Regions from separate parts of the Homo sapiens genome. Here region 1 is linked to region 2. Evidence: promoter capture Hi-C in human tissues and cell types (Jung and others, 2019). All regions are on one chromosome and are shown on one strand. The core of a region is centred on a gene start or on the middle of the fragment in contact, and the rest is flanking DNA. Distances in the headings are between cores, read along the strand shown. Region 1 has its middle 23 kb from the start of MBOAT4. Region 2 holds the start of DUSP4 (dual specificity phosphatase 4).

Evidence for each region. The method cuts DNA at HindIII sites, captures the fragments that hold promoters and counts their contacts. A contact is called where the count stands out against the background at its distance.
Region 1: a contact is called between a fragment that was not itself captured here and the fragment with the promoter of DUSP4 in region 2, in 1 of the 25 tissues and cell types used here (spleen).

What each region holds. Positions count from the first base shown.
Region 1 is chr8:30,119,821-30,124,020 of GRCh38, reverse strand. It overlaps a transcript of LEPROTL1 not described here. Among named protein-coding and RNA genes, the nearest start is that of MBOAT4, 23 kb to the left of the region's middle. The HindIII fragment of the contact is 9,935 bases long and covers 1-4,200 here.
Region 2 is chr8:29,348,978-29,353,051 of GRCh38, reverse strand. DUSP4 (dual specificity phosphatase 4) reads left to right here and starts at 2,368. Exons shown (of 4, transcript NM_001394.7): 1 at 2,368-3,206. The coding sequence starts at 2,774. It overlaps LOC124901924 (a long non-coding RNA gene), which reads right to left and starts at 2,078. Exons shown (of 2, transcript XR_007060876.1): 1 at 1,518-2,078. RefSeq lists enhancers at 1,451-1,560, 1,601-1,670, 2,369-2,868, 3,191-3,340, 2,869-3,370 and silencers at 1,861-2,000, 2,191-2,510. The HindIII fragment of the contact is 25,056 bases long and covers 1-4,074 here.

The sequences.
Region 1 (4,200 bases), core at 401-2,900, 770 kb before region 2:
TACAATGGCCTTGCTATCTTCTGGAAAAAAAAAAAAAAAGCCTATTCCTCCCTTTGAGCCTTTGAAATTGCTTGTCCTTCTATCCAGAATGTTCTTACCCAGGTCTCTGTGGATAGAGATGCTGCTCCTTTACATCATTCATGTCTCTGTTCAAATGACATCTTGCCAGAGAGGAACACCTTGTCTAAAATAAATCCCATTCCCATGCCATCATTCCCATCTCCTCACTCTGCTCTATTTGGTTCATTTACTTTTCATTGATTGAAATTATGTTATTTATTGTTTGACTAAATGAATAAATGATAGGTCTGGATAGAGCTTCCTAAGCAGGAATAAGTATAGACATGGGAACCATGCAAACATACTTCATACTTGAGGTTTGTATGTGTGTATATGTATGTGTGTGTGAGTGAGAGAGAGACGGAGCGAAACAGAGGAATGCTAGTATGACATGAGAAAACCTGACATATTTAGGAATAAATGTAGTAAAATGACTGCAAGACTTGTACTTGGAAAACTATGAAACACTGCTGAGAGATGTTGCAAACCTCAATAAATTGAGAGATATATCATGTTCATTGATTGAAATACTCAATATTGTTGTGGCAGATTGCATTTTCCAAAGATGGACACCATAATATATTCCCTCCCATATGCTTTTCTTACAATGTAACATTAACACTCTTCCCATTGAATGGTCTACGGTCATTCCCCTTGAACCTGGGGGGACATTTACACAACTGGGTTGACCACTAGAGTATGGCAGAAGTGATGCTTCGTGACTTCTAAGGTAGGTCATAAAATATCCATACACTTCTGACTGGTTTTCTTGGGATGATTCACACTCTTGGAATGGATGTAAGAAAGCCACATTGCCATGGAGAGGCAGAGTTTTATATGGAGAGGAGCAGAGACCCCTGGCCTTCATACTAGCTGAGCTCCCATTTAGACATCCAGCACCAATTGCCAGCTATGTAAGTGAACCATCTTGGGAGATGATCCACCAACCCCCAGCTGACACCATGTGGAGCAGACAAACACGTACTGTTAAGACAGGACCAAATTACAGATTTGTGAGCTGAACCAATGATTATTGGTTTAAGTCAATAGGTTTTGGGTGGTTTGCTATGCTGCAATAGGTAACTGTTACAATTGTTAAGATTCATTCTCCCCAAATTGATCTATAGCTTCAATGCAATCCCAATTAAACTCCCAAAAGTTTTTTTGGGAGAGAGTCTTGCATTGTTGCCCATGCTGCAGTGCAGTGGCGCGATCTCAGCTCACTGCAACCTCCACCTCCTAGGTTCAAGGGATTCTCCTGCCGCAGTCTCCCGAGTAGCTGGGATTACAGGCATGCACCACCACACCTGGCTAAATTTTTTTTGTATTTTAAGTAGAGACGGAGTTTCACCATGTTGGCCAGGCTGGTTTTGAACTCCTGACTTCAAGTGATCCACCTGCCTTGGCCTCCCAAAGTGTTGGGATTACAGGCGTGAGCCACCATGCCTGGCCCTCCCAAAAGTTTCTAAAAATAGAAATTGACAAACTAACTCTAAAGTTTATATGAAAATACTAGACTGGGTGAAGTGGTACAGGCCAATAATCCCAGTACTTTGGGAGGCTGAGGTGGGAGGATTGCTTGAGGACAGGAGTTTGAGACTAGCCTGGTCAACATAGTGACACCCTGACTCTACATAAAAATTTTGAGTGATTTTTGAATATAGAGTGAAGTAGGGGTCCAATTTCATTCCTTTGCATGTGGATATCTAGTTATCCCAGCAGAATCATCTGGAAGAGGTGATTCTTTCCACATTGAATTACCTTGACACCTAAAGTTAATTTTTTTTTTTTTTTGAGAGGGAGTCTCGCTCTGTTGCCCAGGCTGGAGTGCAGTGGCATGATCTCGGCTCACTGAAACCTCGGCCTCCCGGGTTCAAGCGATTCTCCTGCCTCAGCCTCTTGAGTAGCTGGGATTACAGGCGCGTGCCACCACGTACAGCTAATTTTTTGTATTTTTAGTAGAGATGGGGTTTTACCATGTTGGCCAGGCTGGTCTCGAACTCCTGACTTCAAGTGATTTGCCCACCTTGGCCTCCCAAAGTGCTAGGATTACAGGGGTGAGCCACTGTGCCAGCCTAATTTTTTTTTAAAGATAAAAAGAAAACAAAAAAGAAATCACTGGAATGCTTAGGGGAGCAGAAGGTAAGGAGCTCTCCACCAGCTTTCCTGTTAGACCCCACACCCCTAATCCAGAGGCCAGGACATTTCTACTGCCATCCAGAGGCCAAGAAACCACTGCCAGAATCACACATCCCTGCATTGGGTAAAAAGCAGTGCAATAGAGTCTTGTCAGCCCCAGAAAAAACACACCAAAGCCCACATACCACTGCTGGCAGAGGAAGGATGTCTTTTGCTTTCCTTCAGGTTTCCAAGTCATCTCATGAGTTTATTTTATTAACAATATCTAGGCTGGGCGTGATGGCTCACACCTGTAATCCCAGCACCTTGGGAGGCTGAGGTGGGCGGATCACTTGAGCTCAGGAGTTGGAGACCAGCCTGGCCAACATGGCGAAAACCCATCTCGACTGAAAATACAAAAAATTAGCCTGGCGTGGTGGCGGGTGCCTGTAATCCCAGCTACTTGGGAGGCTGAGGCAGGAGAATCACTTGAACCCAGGAGGCCAAGGTTGTGGTGAACCAAGATGGAGCCACGGCACTCCAGCCTGGGCGACAGAGTGAGAGTCCATCTCAAAAAAAACAAAAACAAAAACAAAAACAAAAACAAAACCCCAAAAACAATAAACAACAAAACACACAAAACACAATATGTAGATGAAACACAGAACCCTGGAGGTAAGAGAATCGAGTAAATGTAGTTTCAAGGCTCCTGAGATAAAAGGGGATGGGAATCAGTAAACAATATACAGCTTATCAACCAGTCCCAGAAGAACAAACGCTATATGATTCCATAGGAGGTACCTAGAGGAGTCAGACTTACAGAAACAGAGTAGAATGGTGGCTGCCAGGGGCTGGGAGCAGGGGGAATGGGAGTAGAGTTTGTCATGCGAGATGAAAAAGTTCTAGAGATCTGCTGTATAGAATTATGCGGGTATATAACAATACTGAAGTGTACACTTAATAATTTAAGATGGTATTTCAGCCAATCCTGTTTGAAAAGAAAAACAAAACAGTTGGGTGTGGTGGCTCATGCCTGTAATCCCAGCACTTTGGGAGGCTAAGGCTGGTGGATCACTTGAGCCCAGGAGTTCAAGACCAGCCTGGGTAACATGGCAAAACTTCATCTCTAAAAAGAAATACGAAAATTAGCCAGGCATGGTGGCTCATGACTGTAGTCCCAGCTACATGGGAGGCTGAGACAGGAGGATTGCTCAAGCCGGAGAGGCGAAGGTTGCAGTGAACTGAGATTGCACCACTGCACTCCAGCCTGGGTGACAGAGAAAGAACCCATCTCAGAAACAAAATTAAACAAAGATGGTAGATTTCATGTTATGTATTTTGTTACCAGAGTTAAAAAAATATATACATATATATATATGCATATACAAATACATACAACTTATTAAGCGACCATTTACATTTTGCCCTCTTTATATTTTACAACTAAAAGAGTATCATGTAACATCTTATGCACATGCAGTCTTATGATAGTTCTTATTCTTCTATTTCTCCCCAAATGGCTGGGGGAGATCTGGATCCATGCTGTTCTTTTATGTTTGTTATGGAGGAAGCAACTGTTAACAGATTTTCCAACTCAGAATCTGCTTCAAAGGGATGAGCTATTTGGACCCTTTTCAGAAACTTGCTTGGGGCAAAACTCATTAGTAATAATGACAATCAATTATAATTTTATTATTTTATTTGAGGTAGTTTAATGTGCAGCCTTAAAAACATACATTTATTTATTTATTTATTTATTTATTTATTTATTTATTTATTGATGGAGTCTCACTCTGTTGCCCAGTCTGGAGTGCAGTGGCATCTCGGCTCACTGCAACCTCTGCCTCCCAGGTTCAAGTGATTCTCCTGCCTCAGCCTCCCTAGTAGCTGGGATTACAAGCATACGCCACCACGCTCTGCTAGTTTTTGTATTTTTAGCAGAGACGGCATTTTGCCATGTTGGCCAGGCTGGTCCTGAACTCCTGTCCTGAAGTGATCCACCTACCTCGGCCTCCCAAAGTG
Region 2 (4,074 bases), core at 1,119-3,618:
GGGTAGACAAAAGCTGGCCCAGAGCGCGACCCGTGCGCCCCAGGGACGTCTCCCCAGCTCCTGCGACACGCGTGAAATTGGCCCGGACCTGCCTCCTGAGAGGCTTTTCCCAGAAATGTCTTGTTAAAGCCTTTGTAAAGGAATCAGTGTTTACTTGCGCCGGGAGAGCTCCGGCCCTGGGTCCTGGCAGGCGGCGGATTTCTGAGCTGCTGGAGAGCAACCCGGGAAAGCAAAATCAGCCTTGGACTGTCGGGGCCCCTGGGGCTCCTTGCTCCTTATCGAAAGCGAGTTATTAGATAGACCCCCACAGTCCCATTCAGCAGAATGGGAAACTGGACTCAGACACCTTTTGCCCTCCCCACAGGGAGGCCACGCCGTGCGGCTTTGACCACTGATCTCCCACCCGGAGTGCCCGACGCCCAGGGTCCTGCCACCGGGCAGCCTCGGTCAGTCCACAGTTGTGGCTCCTTCCAGGGCCTGGACTAGGGTGAGCACAAGCCTTGAGCGCAACATTTAAGAAGGGCGCCGAAAAGTCAGTAATCAAAAGAAATATCTTGATGCAATGCCTCTTTAAAAGAAAAAAAAATGCAAAAAATCCATGATGAATAAAATACTAAATTTTAAAAAGAGAAAGGATCCGTGCAGTGCCATCGTAAGCCATTTTGGAGCCCGGAGCAAAAGGAAATATCACCTTGCCCAAGCGGTGCCCCTACAGCTCATCCGAGTAGGGCCCGGGGGTCGAGGCATTCGGGGCCCAGTGGGGGACGAGGCCAGTCGAAGGTCTCGGAAGTGGAGGCTCCGCCGAGCTCCGGTCGGGGAGTGCAGGGATGGCCCCCGGGACCGGAGGTGAGAGCTCGGGAAAGCCGCTCCGCCCGGAACAAAGGCATGGGGAGAGGGTGAGCTTGGGCGGGAGAGACCCGGCGGGTACCGGTGCCCTCGCTGCCTGGGTCGGGCTTCCACGCGCGCCCCGGAATGGAATACGCTACTCTGCAGCCTCCGAAACTGCGAGCGAGTCCTGTAACTCCCTTGCTCTGTGATTAATTCTCACTAACAAGACTTGGCAAGATGTCGGGCGAATGATTTTTGGCTTCTGCACGGTCCCCACCGCGTGCGTGCACAAACCCCCAGCCAAAAGCCGCCTCTGGGAAATTAAATGCAAAAGAGAAATGGGGATGGGGAGGGCTGCTACGTGACCAGGAAAAAGGGATGCCCAGAAACATGAATCGGACCCAGAGCTGCTGAAGTCCTTTCAAAAGGTCATTCTTTGCGGGTACATTTTCCAGGGTCCAGCTCCGCAACAAATGTGGACCCTGTCATTTCCTGAAAGGATAATTCACAACTATGCAAGATAGGGTGAAGACGTTTCCCAAACCCGAAAACCTTGTTTTTCCCCCGACCAGGGTTAAATAAACATCTTTTAGGAAGCGTGGACAGGAGCGCAGCCTGCTCTCCTCCCTCGGAACACCATTCCGGCAATTAATGCCTCCCTTTGGGTAGTAAAGCAACAAACCCCACACCTCACTCCGATCCTGGGCTTCGGGCGGGAGGACTTTCTCTTTCATCTTCCAAGCAGGGGGTTGCCCACGTTCTTGGGGAAGCTATAAAACTGATTTAATGGCTTTAGATGAAAATCGATCACGCTAATGCATACGCTAACGTCTCAGGAATCGCATATTCAGAAAGGACTGGCCGGGCCGAAAGCGCACGGGGAGTCTGGGGCTAGGAGGTGTCAGGCCCCGCTGGGTGGGCAGCAGCGCTCCGGTCCCCTCTCCACTTGGGTAACCGGGAAAAACCTACGGGGCTGTCACGCGGGGAAGCGCGAAGGTGCCAAGGGATGAAAGCTCAAACCCGAGCCCTGGCCTCCTCAGCCGGCTATTTCCTTTGGCGCCGCCCGCCTAGCGGCGGGGTGCAGCGGCGGCACAGGTGCCGGTGTCGGGCTGGAGGCGCGGCGCAGGCTGGGCCCGCGGGTAGACGGCGAAAGGCGCCGCGCGCTCCATTCACAAAGTCCGGGCGCTGCCCGCCGCTGGCGGCGGGTCGGAGGCCGCCTCCCTCTTCCTCTCGGCCTCGGTTTTATGAATGGGCCTGATGGCGAGCACCCGGCGCCCTGTTTACTCCGCTCTTTGTGACGTCGAGTTCCCGTGACCGGGAGCCAGCGGCCGCGCTCCATTCAAGCTCCGGGGAGGGGGTGGGAGGAGGGGCCCGGAGGGGGCGGGGAGTCAGCGCGGGGGGCGGGGGACAGCGCGGGGGGCGGGGGACGGCGCGGGGCCCGGAATGGAACGGGGCGGGGCCTGGCGGGGTAGTACCTAGCGCCCCCTCCCCCGGGAGCGCGGAGGAGCATTAATAAACCTCTAAGCCGAGGAGAAAACTCTGGCTGGGGCAGTGCGCTGAGCGCCGGAGGAGCGTAGGCAGGGCAGCGCTGGCGCCAGTGGCGACAGGAGCCGCGCGACCGGCAAAAATACACGGGAGGCCGTCGCCGAAAAGAGTCCGCGGTCCTCTCTCGTAAACACACTCTCCTCCACCGGCGCCTCCCCCTCCGCTCTGCGCGCCGCCCGGCTGGGCGCCCGAGGCCGCTCCGACTGCTATGTGACCGCGAGGCTGCGGGAGGAAGGGGACAGGGAAGAAGAGGCTCTCCCGCGGGAGCCCTTGAGGACCAAGTTTGCGGCCACTTCTGCAGGCGTCCCTTCTTAGCTCTCGCCCGCCCCTTTCTGCAGCCTAGGCGGCCCGGGTTCTCTTCTCTTCCTCGCGCGCCCAGCCGCCTCGGTTCCCGGCGACCATGGTGACGATGGAGGAGCTGCGGGAGATGGACTGCAGTGTGCTCAAAAGGCTGATGAACCGGGACGAGAATGGCGGCGGCGCGGGCGGCAGCGGCAGCCACGGCACCCTGGGGCTGCCGAGCGGCGGCAAGTGCCTGCTGCTGGACTGCAGACCGTTCCTGGCGCACAGCGCGGGCTACATCCTAGGTTCGGTCAACGTGCGCTGTAACACCATCGTGCGGCGGCGGGCTAAGGGCTCCGTGAGCCTGGAGCAGATCCTGCCCGCCGAGGAGGAGGTACGCGCCCGCTTGCGCTCCGGCCTCTACTCGGCGGTCATCGTCTACGACGAGCGCAGCCCGCGCGCCGAGAGCCTCCGCGAGGACAGCACCGTGTCGCTGGTGGTGCAGGCGCTGCGCCGCAACGCCGAGCGCACCGACATCTGCCTGCTCAAAGGTAAACGAGGGCTCCGGGCGCTAGCTGGAGTCGGGGAGATGGAGGGGGTCTTGGCGGCCTGCGCCTTATTGGCACGGGAAGGAGTCCCCGGCGTGATTCGTGGTTGCGGGGATCCCCGCGCGCCCCTTTGTGTGTGTTGGTGTGTAGGGGTTTGCAAGGTTTCTGTGCAAGTGCGAGGTTCAAGTCCTCAGGGAAAGTGCGGACGGGTTTCTCCGGTCACCTGCAATTCCGCACCGTCCTAGCGAGGCCCCGTTTATTGACATTAACGGTCCTAGCCTCGAGGATGAAGCGACTCCTCTGCGCGGTCCATCTTGAGTCCCGGGAACAGTTTCCAAGTACCACGGGGCGCGTGGGGACAAGATAGGCCTGTTGGTTTGGCGTGCTGGGGCCCTACACTGAGCCGGACCGGGAGAATCCCAGAGGTGGAGAAAAGGTGAAGAGGGGTGGGCGCCGAGGTACAATTGGCCTTGCCAGTTTCACTGAAAACAAGACCCTGGCAAATGCAGAAAGGGAGATTGGGTTGCACACACTGTGTAGAGCGATCTGTATCTGCGTTCCCGCTGCCCAACTCCAAGCTCAGCTTGGAAGGTGGCCAATCCCCGTCCCGGGCTAGATCCAGGCTCTGGGAGCGGGAGGCTGAAGGACTGGGTATCTGGGGGACGCCGGGCGGAACCGGTCCTCTAGCGCCTGCAAATCCGGGCAGCGGAGAATGATCACCTTTTGTTCAGCCCGGATTTTCGACTATCTGATGGCGGCGCGTGCCGGATTTTAGCGAGCCCTGGCGAAACTCTCGGCGGCGAGACTGTCTTGTCACATTTGGTAGTCGGAAATCCTGGAAAAATCGCGTGCTGTCCGAGTCCCTGGAGGG